Linked DNA regions of Homo sapiens: region 2 is linked to region 1. Evidence: promoter capture Hi-C in 16 types of primary human blood cells and fetal thymus (Javierre and others, 2016). All regions are on one chromosome and are shown on one strand. The core of a region is centred on a gene start or on the middle of the fragment in contact, and the rest is flanking DNA. Distances in the headings are between cores, read along the strand shown.

Evidence for each region. Contacts are between HindIII fragments. The CHiCAGO score rates a contact against its expected background, and 5 or more counts as called.
Region 2: a fragment that was not itself captured here is called in contact with the fragment with the promoter of LHFPL6 in region 1 in 1 of 17 cell types (endothelial precursors); the score reaches 6.5 in endothelial precursors.

Annotation. Positions count from the first base shown.
Region 1 is chr13:39,599,672-39,605,785 of GRCh38, reverse strand. It overlaps LHFPL6 (LHFPL tetraspan subfamily member 6), which reads left to right and starts at 2,593. Exons shown (of 4, transcript NM_005780.3): 1 at 2,593-2,903; 2 at 4,396-4,954. The coding sequence starts at 4,570. It overlaps LOC112268119 (protein SPT2 homolog), which reads right to left and starts at 4,462. Exons shown (of 4, transcript XM_035861111.2): 1 at 4,393-4,462; 2 at 3,246-3,336; 3 at 2,144-3,142. The coding sequence starts at 4,462. RefSeq lists a silencer at 2,399-2,698. The HindIII fragment of the contact is 2,884 bases long and covers 1,334-4,217 here.
Region 2 is chr13:39,366,239-39,372,352 of GRCh38, reverse strand. The region is part of intron 3 of LHFPL6 (LHFPL tetraspan subfamily member 6); the gene reads left to right. Among named protein-coding and RNA genes, the nearest start is that of LHFPL6, 230 kb to the left of the region's middle. The HindIII fragment of the contact is 1,673 bases long and covers 3,076-4,748 here.

The DNA.
Region 1 (6,114 bases), core at 1,344-3,843:
TGTGAAGTAATTTAATGGTCCTTTAAAGGTACAAATTTAATGCAAAGGGGCTTAAATAAATTATAATGCATTTTGCTTACAAAGTGTGCATGGAAGAACATAAGGAGTAATTCAGAAGATATTATAGTTTAGTAAGATAATTAGAAAGAGAAATCAAGATATGTGGATTATAGCCTCAGCTTTGGGTAAGACACTGGAAGAATTTCGAGCCTCTGTTTTGTCAGCTGTAAAATTACATACTTGAACAAGATTAGATGATCTCTAAATTCCTTCTCAAAGATAAGAGGACCCATATAACCATGATGCTGGAAGTTGTGAGCTTAAAAAAAATTAAAATAACCTATTTCAATCTCTTTTTAACAATGAGATAACTTAGGGCTTGGGAAGATCACCATTTGTCTGAATTCACTTATTTAAGTTAGAAATTTGAGTCCCAGTATTATACTTTCACAAATAATTGATATTGCATCCTGAAAGATTTTTAAAAATTTGGCCTCTTCTGTCATTTTTTTTTTCATTTTAGGCAGAATCTCTGTGATAGCATTTACTCTGCTTAAGAGAGTGCAAATAATGAGATTTTTTTAAAAGTCATTTTTTAGCTGTAAATTTTTGGGCAAATTACTTCTTATCCTTGCGGTAAAATAATAATTATTCCTTCTTCATAATTTTTCTTTTCTTTTTTGAGGACTGGATAAGTAATCTATTAAGGGACCTTAATGTACTAACACACAGCAAGGAGTCAATCTGTAGTAACCATGATTATCATTAATATGTCTCCAGCCAGCACTTGCGCTTAAGCTTTCTCACACTTAAGAAAGTGTTTGAGAGCAATTTCCCCTGCAGGTTGTACGGAGGTGACTCCGATTCTCACTATTATTCTTTTGTCTTTTATGATCATATCTTCCACCATCATATTATATAGGTATGAAGGCTCTGTGTAATAACTAAGGGTGTGGTACCTAACTGGAAGTCAGACCAATCATTCTTATGCTGTCACTGAAACCAGTAACCGGTGATTTGTAAGAGAAGAGTTAAAACAACTTAAACTCAACAACAACACCAAAAACAAAAACACTTAAATTGGGGATTCTGAATATGGGATTCATGGATGGGCTTTAAGGGAATGGGAAACCACCTGATATTTCATTCAAATGATTGACATTTTGGCCCAGGTAATTTTGGGGACTGTCCTGTGCACTGTATTTAGCAGAATCTCGGGTCTTTACCAACTAGATGCCAGTAATACTCCCCATTCATGGGTTATGATAATCAAAATTATCTTCAGACCTTGCCAAATATCCCTTTCCTTCTTCAGAATCGCTGTGGTAAAGCTTTATATGTCCGCGCATTTTTTTTTCTGGAAGGCTTATCAGTTTCATCGTATTTTTTAAAAGACCTGTGACCTCAAAAGGCTTGGAATCAATCACTTAAGGTCTTTCAAAATAATAATAAAAGAACACATATCTCCAGCTGTCGTTGTGGGAAAAATGTACACCATCACGGCTAATTAAAATGGTGCAGTCTGAAAATCTGCTATGAAATATATACCTACCAATTTATTACTTTCAACTCCTCTAAAAAGACACCTCACAAAAACTATATCTGGGAAACTGTCTACTTCAAAAACTGCTGTTCCCAGATGGCATACTTCTTAAAATACTGTGTTCAGCAGAGACTCCCACAGTCATCTACTGAATCTAGCTCTAAACTTCTAAAGGGGTTAGTGCTAATGACAAGTGGAAAAAGTCCTCAAGTCCAGAGGGGAACTAAAAATCAGTTGTTTCTCAGAAAAGAAATCAAACGATGGAATAAATTGCAAAATTGATCAGGAGGCAGGATGGAGGAGAAGGGAGGGAGGAAGTGAAGGGAAAGGGAGGGAGGGAGGGAGAGAGAGACAGAGAAACAGCAAGAGAGAGAGAGAGAGACCTTTGAAAGAGTGTATCTCTTGGGAGAGGCTCGCTAGAGGTCCGCCCCTGCCTTCTCCCTGGCTCGTCTGGAAAGGCAGCTGCCCCCATGCCATACATGAGCCTTGGGCTGTCTGCTGTGCTTTAATTCCCACGTCCACAACCGCCTCATTCACCGCCTTCCAAAGTGACCACTTCTCAAAAGCCTCCTCAAATCTCAAAGGGGCCACTTTACCCACTCTTTAAGGCCCTCTTTCCCGTCTACGGCTTCTTTTAACGGCGGCAGGAAAACAGGAGCATAAACCCGAACAGTAAACCCAGAAAAGCCCCAACAGGCAAAGTGTGTCATCTTCCGTGGCTCCTCGGGGTCACCCAGGAAGACAAGCAACTTTCTCCCATACTTCTCGGTCTGTCTGCCTTCCCCACTCAGCTTTGAATGAGACGCAGGGAGAGGGGGCGCGAGGGGGCTCGGGGCTAGGGGAGGAGCCGCGAAAGCTGCCCCCGGGGGTGGGCCTGGACCCGCGCGGACAGCGGGGCACCCCCCCACTCCCTTCCCGGCGCTCCAGGAACGTCCCCGGTGCGTCCTGGGTCTGTCTGCGCGGAGTTCCCCGGGGCGCGAGGGGAGGGGACTGGAGAAAGAGGAGGGCCGGGCAGCGGAGGGGAGGAGGCGGTGCGTGCCTCGCCTGCCAAAGGGAGATCCGCTCCTCTGCGTGCGATCCCCGGCGCCCGCGCGCGCCCACAGCGCTCCGCCAGAGCTGCCGCCGCGGACTCGCCGGGAGTGGGGGTCTCCGCTGGTGCCAGCCCGCTTCTGGAGACCCTCCGCCTCCTGCCAACCCCTGCTCTTCCAGGTCGGGCCCCGGGGTTCTGCGGCTGTTAGGGACAGAGGCAAAGAAGGGCAGGACGGTCCGGTTTCCCGTGGATGTTCCCGCCCGAGAAAGACAGCAAGTTGTGTGTGCGCCCGGGACGCGGGAGGGAAGGTGGCCGCCGCCCGCCAGCCATGTAAGTAAATCACTCGGCTGCCCCGTGGGCGTGGGCTCCGCTGCTTTCTCCCGGGCTCCCTCTCTGCCCCGGAGCCGGAGTTGGGCTGCTCCCGGGCTCCGGACTTCCTGAGCTCGGCGGATCCGTCGGCTCTGCCTGCCAGCCGCGTCCGCTCTTGGCGTCTGCCTCCGGGGGGTGCTGCCTTCCCATCCTTATCCCCTCCCTTCGTCCAGAGCCGGCTGGAAAATGCCTCTTGCCCCCTTTTAGAATGGAGGGATCATTGTGTGTCTCCATGGGTGGAGTGGCTCGGTGAGGCAATGGCAGGGGGCTAAATATGGGCTTGTCTTGGCGAGGGCGCCTCACCGCAGTTGGAGATGGGGGCCCCCTGCCCGCAGGCCACCCCCTGCTGGTCTTCCCCAGCCTCGTGGCCCAGATAGATCAACTTCAGCCCTGACTGCAGTTGACAAGATTAGAAAAAAAAGTAGTAGCCGACCTCCCGTTTGAGTGACATCCAGAACTGAAAATGGGCGGTGGTTAGAGAAAAAAACGGGTAGGGGCGAGGTGAAGAAAGGGGGAAATTTGCTATGGACCCTGAAAGCTGGAGTTAGGGGTCCTGGGGGTGGAATTCTAGGGTGGATGGGCTCTGTGCTTCTGTATTCATTTCTTTATGGAAAGTGTGAGAAATGGTTAAGGAACTCTTTTTGAAAGGCTGGGGTGGAAGTAGATGCCCCTGGAACCATTTGGATGACTGGGGTTTGATGTAGCATACTGGGAAGTATGGATTGCTGTTCAAATTAGACAATCATTCAGTGGGAGAAATGATTGCAATAGAACTGTTGGAATCAATGAATCAAAACTGCAGACTCAAAATAAGTCATACACAGGCATTCTTTTACACTAGAAGATGTTAAGACTAAAGAAATTCTGAAATGCTGCTGAATGAGTACAAAGAGTGTCTGGTAATAGTTCTGTACTGTGGGTGCCTCCGCAGACCATAATGCTTGTTAAATTTATGGTACTCTGCAATTGTGAAAAATTATCCTAATTAGTTTGTTTGGCTCATGCAGAGAGTTAATGCACCCTTAAAGGGACATAGAAAAGTTGCAACAAACTATGAGCATGAACTTGCAAGCCAAAAAATGGAAATCATGGCATGGTTCATTTTATTTTAATTGTTTATTGCCCAGTGAAAGTGCTACATTACTTTTAATGTGAGTATATAATATATAGAATGAATTCATTGGCCTGTCAAATAAAAATCGGGCGTTTCTTTAAGTAAATAGCTGTCAGAGTTAATTTGGAAATATTTACGGAAGATAAAGACATGAAAAAGCTTTGAGCTGGTTTGACAAAAATCGAGTTATGAAGCTCATAGAGAGAATTAGTTCTTCCCACTTTTAAAGTGTTGAGGCAAGTCTCAATGTTTATTAATTGAAAATTGTAGACTAGCTGAAACAGTGTTATCACTTCTTTTAATGCCTTTAATTTTTAATGTTTCCTGTTGTTTTACCAGGGACCATCATCTTTAGTGCAGAGGATGGAAAGTTGATGCCCAGTAAGACTGAAGATCCATTCTGCATTACGGAACTGTGGATTATCTGTGGGTCCCTGGTGATTTCACACCTTCATTCACTCCTGCAGTCCCTGAACACTTACTTGGGGTCCTCATTGCCCTATCTGGTGAAAGATGGCATCCAGCCTGACTTGTACTGGAGTAATCTGGGCTTTGCTGTCTTTTCTTTGTGCTGCCACCTCCTGCGTGGGGTTCTTTATGCCTTACTGGCTCTGGGGATCACAGCTGGGCAAGCCTGTGTCCTTCGGTACCTTCCGGAGGTGCTCATATCCTGTGCATGATGAGAGTCGGCAGATGATGGTGATGGTGGAGGAATGTGGGCGCTATGCCTCCTTCCAGGGCATCCCCAGCGCAGAATGGAGGATCTGCACCATAGTGACCGGCCTGGGTTGTGGCCTCCTCCTCCTGGTGGCGCTCACTGCCCTCATGGGTTGCTGTGTTTCCGACCTCATCTCCAGGACAGTGGGAAGAGTGGCTGGAGGAATTCAGTTTCTTGGGGGTAAGTGACTTGCTGAGCTTGAGTTGTTTACTGGAATCCCAAAGCAGTATTAAAAGTTATGTTTCAGTTGTCTACTGAGATTATTATAAATGACACCTGGAATGCATAAGAGAAATAGATTTGGAATGGCTTTGATGATAGGTTGCCAAAGTCAAGATTATTGTCAGAATTGCTGCTTTACAACTTCAAGAGTTCTTAATTTCTGTACATATACATCACTGGCCTGCTAAGTGCCACCTATGTGAAACAGTAACATCTAGGTTGTTTGAGGTGTAGTAGGGGCGACAGTTTGGATTTTATAGCTTCTTGTTCGTTATGTTAAACAATAGACAATTAGATTATCTTTGTCTTCATGGAATCCTCGGGTCTTTAAAGGTAAAGATTTCACAGAAAAGTGGAAAAGGTTTTTGATTCAACATTGTTATCATGAACCTCTAATACACTTTGGTGGATGCAAAATTTACTCTTGCCCAATCTTAAACTCTATTTCTAAATAAATGTTAACTATTTTAAATGAGAGATCAGTTTTATATAACAACTATGAACTTAACTATTCTACAGAGATAGCTATCCACTTAATTACCTTGTTAGGTCTTAACTTTCCTGGGTGCTCTTGCTGTGGAAAAAAAGAAAAGGGATATTTAGCAAATGATGTGTGCTTGTCCCAGATGGACTGGATAGTTTCACTAACGCCAGAAAAGGTTTGATTTTTACTTGGATTCCCTCCAGCAAGTATTGCTTCAATATCTTTGGTCATATGGTTTTAATTGTACTTTATGTATTTTCCACTGTGCTTTTCACCTCCATTCTTCAACCTGACTGGCTGAACTTGTCTGATTTACAGTCCACCCTGGTGAAATATGACAACCTCCATAGATAGTGCAGAGTGAAGGGAAATAGGAAGCCTGGAAAACTTATACAATGTATTTGGAACTTCATTACAAAGTAAAGGTCTGTTACTCCCTCATTTGGTGTTTTCTTACAGTCTTTTGTGAAGAATCCAGAAGAAGAAAAATGAATTAAAAATGAGTAGTTGTGAGACAGTCTCCCCATATTAGAGAACCCCAATGGATTATTTCAGAGTATTTAATATAAAACTTTCAAGTAACATTTTCAGTAAAGTTTAATTCTTGTGCTGAAAATGCAAGTGGCAAAGTTTT
Region 2 (6,114 bases), core at 2,663-5,162, 230 kb after region 1:
TTGTTTTGTACTTGCCTTGCTTAACAAACATTCATTATGTTTTGTATAGACTAGGATGCTTTAGGTTTAGGTTATACAAGTCTGGCTCAAACAGGCCAAAACAAAGAAGACGTGTGAGATCTCTTATTATAGCAAGGCAGGAGCTAAGGTCAGCTACAGACTTGACTGACTCAGGAGCTCAAAGATGTTTTCCAGGGCCCATGTTCAGGAAGAACGTGTGAGATCTCTTATTATAGCAAGGCAGGAGCTAAGGTCAGCTACAGACTTGACTGACTCAGGAGCTCAAAGATGTTTTCCAGGGCCCATGTTCAGGAAGAACTGTCTGTAGACTGGCTGTAACCATCCGCCATCTGTAGGCTGGCTTCATTTTGACGTTAGTTCTCCCCATGGTTGTAAGAGCGTTTGGCACTTGTGGCTTTAAACATCCTTGTTCATGCCAAAAGGAGAGGACAAGCTTCTCCCCAGAAATGGAATCAGAGTCTCTCTCCTCACTCTAATTGGGCCAGCTTTGTCATGTGTCCGCTCAAAGGGATAATGGCTGCCAGGGAATGCCACGTGCTTCTTATGGTTCAGCTTAGATGCACTTAGAGTTTTATAAGATTTGATTTTACTGAGAAGTAGTGGGATTTGTAAGAGGAAGATGAGATAAAAAGGAGAAAAGGCATTTTAGTCTTTTCTTTCTTTTGTCAGACTTCACTGTCTGTGGTCCTATCATCAGTGTAGCCTGTGGTTGTGGACAGAGGGACAGTCGTGGCAGGTGTTAATAATGCTGATTTTTATTTATTGCTTTTTGAGAGAATAAAACAGTATAAATGATAAGAATACATAGTGTCACAGCATCTGGCACATAATAAAAGCCCAGTAATGTTTGCAGTTGGACAGGACCATTTAAATGCATATTGGCTGATCAATCTTTATTCTTCCTTTTACATTCCGCAACAGTAAGTTTGGGTTTACCCATTAAGCATAAGGGCTTTATAATCAGGTTATCCAATTGATTTAATTCATGCCTCAGAGATATTCTCATCCACCAAAGACTTTTCTAATTATATCCTTGTGATCAAAAGTAGTGTTTCAATTAATTTGTCTCGCTATTTTGCCAAGTAAATTTGAGTAATTATTGCTTTCATTTTGCTATTTAATTTGATTAAGAAGCCATCATGGTTCCTGTTCTTGAAATTATGCTGGTGGCTTCTTAAGAGCAGTGCCGTAAACTGGAAACTCAGAGCCTCCCAGTGTTGATAAAGATGAGAGTCTGTTTCTTCCAATTTTCAATCAAAGGAAGAAATCTCTTCTACTTTAATCTGAACACTGACTGTCCCACATCTCTTTAGACACATATCCTTTAGCTCTTTGACTCCTGACTCATGCCGTCTTGCCTCTCAAATCTAATCATACTTGAGAAAAATCTGTTTGCAATTTCTGGCTAGGTCAGCTGGGTAAAAATGCAAACAAAAGTATAATTTTTTAAAAAAATTTTGAGCTCTTGGTGTTAGTGGATGCTTCTCAAGCAAGAGAACCTGCTATTGGTCTCTGTGACATTCAATATGACTCGCTTCATTTTGTCCAGAAGTTAGAAAGCTCCTATGACTCCTGTGGACTTTTCGGGTTGCTTCATGCTCAGGCAGGCCAGGCAGCTCTGTGCAGTTTCTGCAGGCATCTGCGTTGTGTGCCAGAGCAGGGTTCTCCTGACTCAAGCAGCAAGTGTTTGCAGAGAGCGGCAGTTAAAGTGTCTGTCACTCAGCTCAGGAAGAGACTCCTAACACTTGATGCACTGGTCATTGCTTAGAGTAAATGGATTATTCCATTTTGAGATTGCTATTTGGGAGGTTGGTTAATAGTAAGGTATTGAACATGCATTGAAATGTAGGCAAATTTAAGGCCGTTAATGCAGCAATGATGTCCTACCTCCCAAATGACTATTAACTGAATATTTTCTAAACTTTTGACACTTAAATCCAAGTCACTGGAAGTCATTTAGAAGGTCCAGCATGAGCCTGGATTTCCTCACCCAGAGCTCTAGCACAGAATCACAGGAAAGCCAAGCAGCTGCTGTGAATTCAACAAAGACCCAAATTGTATAGGAACCCATGGGGGCACTCAGGAACTTGGCTCCAAATGATGCAGGGAAACTTCCGCGTCCAAGGGAGCCCACCCTGGCCAGTGATGACATGACTGAGCAAAGTGTTCAGGCACCCGCAAGGCAACAATAATAAGCTTTTCTGGTCACTCAGCCTTTCTTAGGGGCCTCTTTCCATCAGATGAAGAGTTTTCTGCCTTTACTCTAGAAGTAGGGAGAATGCCACATTTTTTCAGGGATGTTCATTCAACCTGCCCATTCCAGTAGGTTCCACGTTTTCAAAATCAGAGCCAGAACATTTCTATTTTATAACTTAGTAAACACCTCTTGTCCTGCTTTGGGAAAAAGGACCCCACTCTGTACAATCATAGATTCAATTTGATCTGTTTCCCTAAACACAGTTTTGCAGATCCCAGATGAACCTGTGGGATAGGATTTTTCAACTTCGGTGCCTAGCTTGGTGTTTGGTGTTCAATAGATTCACTTACTTCCTCAAGCAAATATTTATTAAGCACATTCTAGGCAACAAAAGTTGTGCCACAAACAAAATTGTGAAGAAGATAGACATAATTCTTACTGGCATGCCATATATCTGCCATCTATTGAATGGTTAAAAAATTAGGAGGGAGAATGAGAGGAAAGGAAAGGGGGAAGGAAGGGAGGGAGAGAGGGAGGAAGGAAGGAAGGAAGGAAGGAAGGAAGGAAACCTACTATGAATTTTTGATCACAGAAACAGCAGCTGCCATCATGTTTCTGTATATATTTGGCCACTGATATCCTACCAAGAATCATGGCATCACTTTTTAAGGGACTAATGGCCTAACCACCTCCCAAAAAAAAATTTAAAAACCAAGTCAGGGTAATCATTTAAAGAACCAGATACCCTGATAGGTGGAAAAAAAATTGCTCTACATTCTTTTTTTCTCAAGTCTATTTTGGCTTGGTTATTTCAGTGTGGATCATTCCTACTCTTTTATTTATGCCTTTGTAAAGCTTCATTCAGTGGCTTGCAGAGATTTATAGCAGGGAAATTCAAGCAATTGTGGGAAAAAGGAAATCTCTTAGAAAACCTGTGGGAAATAAGATTTCTTGAGATATGGTTACAAAACTATTGGGGAGAATATGCTAGTCTCTCTTTTAAAGATTCTTCTTTTTTTTTTTTTTTCAGTGTTGTCCTTTTATTAGTTTAAAAAAAAAAAGACGTACCTGAGTTTGCCTTTTCAGATGTAAAGTACTTAAGGACATTTAGGAAATTGAGCTGTTTCATTCTAATTATTTTTTGTATTATGTGTTCTCAACCATTATATTCTTTCCCATCATTTCAGCCAGAATATATAAAATATAAAACAGAAAGAAGCCCCTTTTTATCATTAGTGGCTCTGTTGTCAAATAGTCATTCCTGAGACCTGTGGACATTTATAGAATGCTGTTGCCATTTTAATAAGAAATCAAGACTGAAATAATTTTTTTGTTCTTTCTGGTTTTGTTGTTGCATTGCAATTGTTTTATGTCACAGTTATTGATTATTCATTGCAGTCATTAATGATGCCTGTCTCTTTTTATTCTCTCACTTCTAATTTGTGCCCTTTCTAAAGATCATAAATCATTTTAAAATCATGCTATGAAGGAACAATCTTCAGTCCTTTTTTCTGAGGATTTTGTGTCTTTTTTGATGTTGTTATTGTTGTTGTTGAGACGGAGTCTCACTCTGTTGCCAGGCTGGAGTGCAGTGGCGTGATCTTGGCTCACTGCAACCTCCACCTTTCAGGTTCAAGAGATTCTCCTGCCTCAGCCTCCAGAGTTGCTGGGACTACAGGCGTGCACCACCAGACCCAGCTAATTTTTGTATTTTTAATAGAGACAGGGTTTCACCATGGTGGCCAGGATGGTCTTGATCTCTTGACCTCGTTATCTGCCCGCCTCAGCCTCCCAAAGTGCTGAGGTTACAGGCGTGAGCCACCATGCCCAGCCTGTATTTTTTTTTTTCCTCCACCGCCCACTGCAACCTTTGCCTCCTGGGCTCAAGTGATTCTCCTGCCTCGCCCTCCCAAATAGTTGGGATTACAGGTATGCACAACAATGCCCGGCTAATTTTTGTAATTCTTAGTAGAGACAGGGTTTCACCATGATGGCCAGGCTGGTCTCGAACTCCTGGCCTCAAGTGAGTGACCCACCCGCCTTGGCCTCCCAAAGTGCTGGGGTTACAAGCATGAGCCACCATGCCTGGCTGGATTTTACATCTTTGAAGCATTGATGTTTATATGTTCTGGCTAGTAGTTTTTAACCTCCTGATTTGGGGTCATGTTTTGGATAGGTGGAGATGTTATTAATACTTAATTGATATCTGGCTAAGTAAGCTACTTTGGGTTAGCAACTGGATGTTTTGATGACACTGGTAGAAGAGTTAAATGTTATGGTAACCTTTGATCTTCAGACTGATTTTAACTTAAGGTCTCCAGACCGTTTAAGTGGCTCATAGTCCATCAGTAGGCTTCAGAGAAATTCAGAATCTACTGAAATGCTTTGCAATTTTCATAGGCTTTTGGACATGTGCTTTTTTCTGGAGAGAATATTCATAGCTTTTGTTATTATTCAAATGGATTCCTGACACCTGAAGACTTAGAACCTATATAGTAAACAACATTTGGAAGTCTTACATGGGAAAGCTTAGAGATCTGAACTCTAGACCTCACCTCCCAACAATCCTCAAATTCCTCCAGAAAGCTAGAACACAGTTGAACCCCTTTGACTTGATTTCATTATCTACGAAAGTATTTGTTAAGGGATATTATACAGAAACGCACCTCTGCTTACAAGAAGTGTTATGCAAATAAATGCTACCATACAATAGTTCCTTTGTATTTTTATTTTTTAAGCCATTTTTGTCTTTTTTATTATTTCAAATTTTATTTTAGATTCAGGGGATACATGTTCAGGATTGTTACATGGATATATTGTGTAACACTGGGGTTTGGGGTACAAATGATACCATCATCCAGGTAGGGAACATAGTACCCCATAGGTAGTTTTTCAGCCCTTACCCCTCTCTGTTTTGCCTCACTCTAGTGATCCCCTGTGTCTGTGGTTCCCATGTTTATATCCATGCCATGCACCAGTTCTAATTCAAAATCACATCTGTGAAAATGAGTGTTCAGCCTTCCTAGTGAATTGAATATGCTTCCACTTAGGATCTTAGCCAGTTTCATTAGTGCCGCTGTTGGAGATTGTTCTTCACAGATCTCTTGTGTGTTAGCACAACTTGTCAGCACAGACACTCTATTCTGAACTATCATTTCGAAGATGTTTGTGTAGTAAACAGTCTTGGAAGTAGAGCAGAGGATAGGTGTGTTTAGTGTCCATTATAATAAAAATAATGCCTTTCTCTGGGGTAAATAAAGATTGGGCAGATTTTATTGCAGTCCATTATAAAAGATTTGAGTTCCCTTAGTTTGGGTTCCTCAACTGTGACACAAACCCACTATGTTTGTTGCATTCATCTGGGCTGTTTCACATCAGCCCCTGTGAGGAGAGGGCAACAAAGGGAGTGGACATAAACATGGAGCTCATGCTGCCTGCTGTGCTGTGAGTAATACAGTCCTTTGTCTCTGATCCAGGAGTCTCCTATCTTTTGCCAGCGTCCACAAAATTGTGATAGTATAACTTGTTACATTGCAAATAGAGTAAAATATCAAACCTTCACAGTTCTTAAGACTACTGTTACAATGCCTATAGTTCCTTGAAAAATACTTCATCATAGACAGTGATATATGGGTATTATTTAAGGGAAACCACAACTCGAGTGCATATTCCGGACTGGATACTCATGGGTGCTAGTACAAGTGGTTCTGTTATTCATATCTTGACTAACACTGGAAGCTTTACTAATTAGCACAGCAATGATCAAAATGGACTTTTATTGGTAGAATTAGATCTTATTAAATAGCATGATGAATATTAAAAATGGACTTTCATTGGTGAAATTAAAAATACTCAAGATTGTGGATTGGTAGAATCCACATAAGTAGTTAGAGACA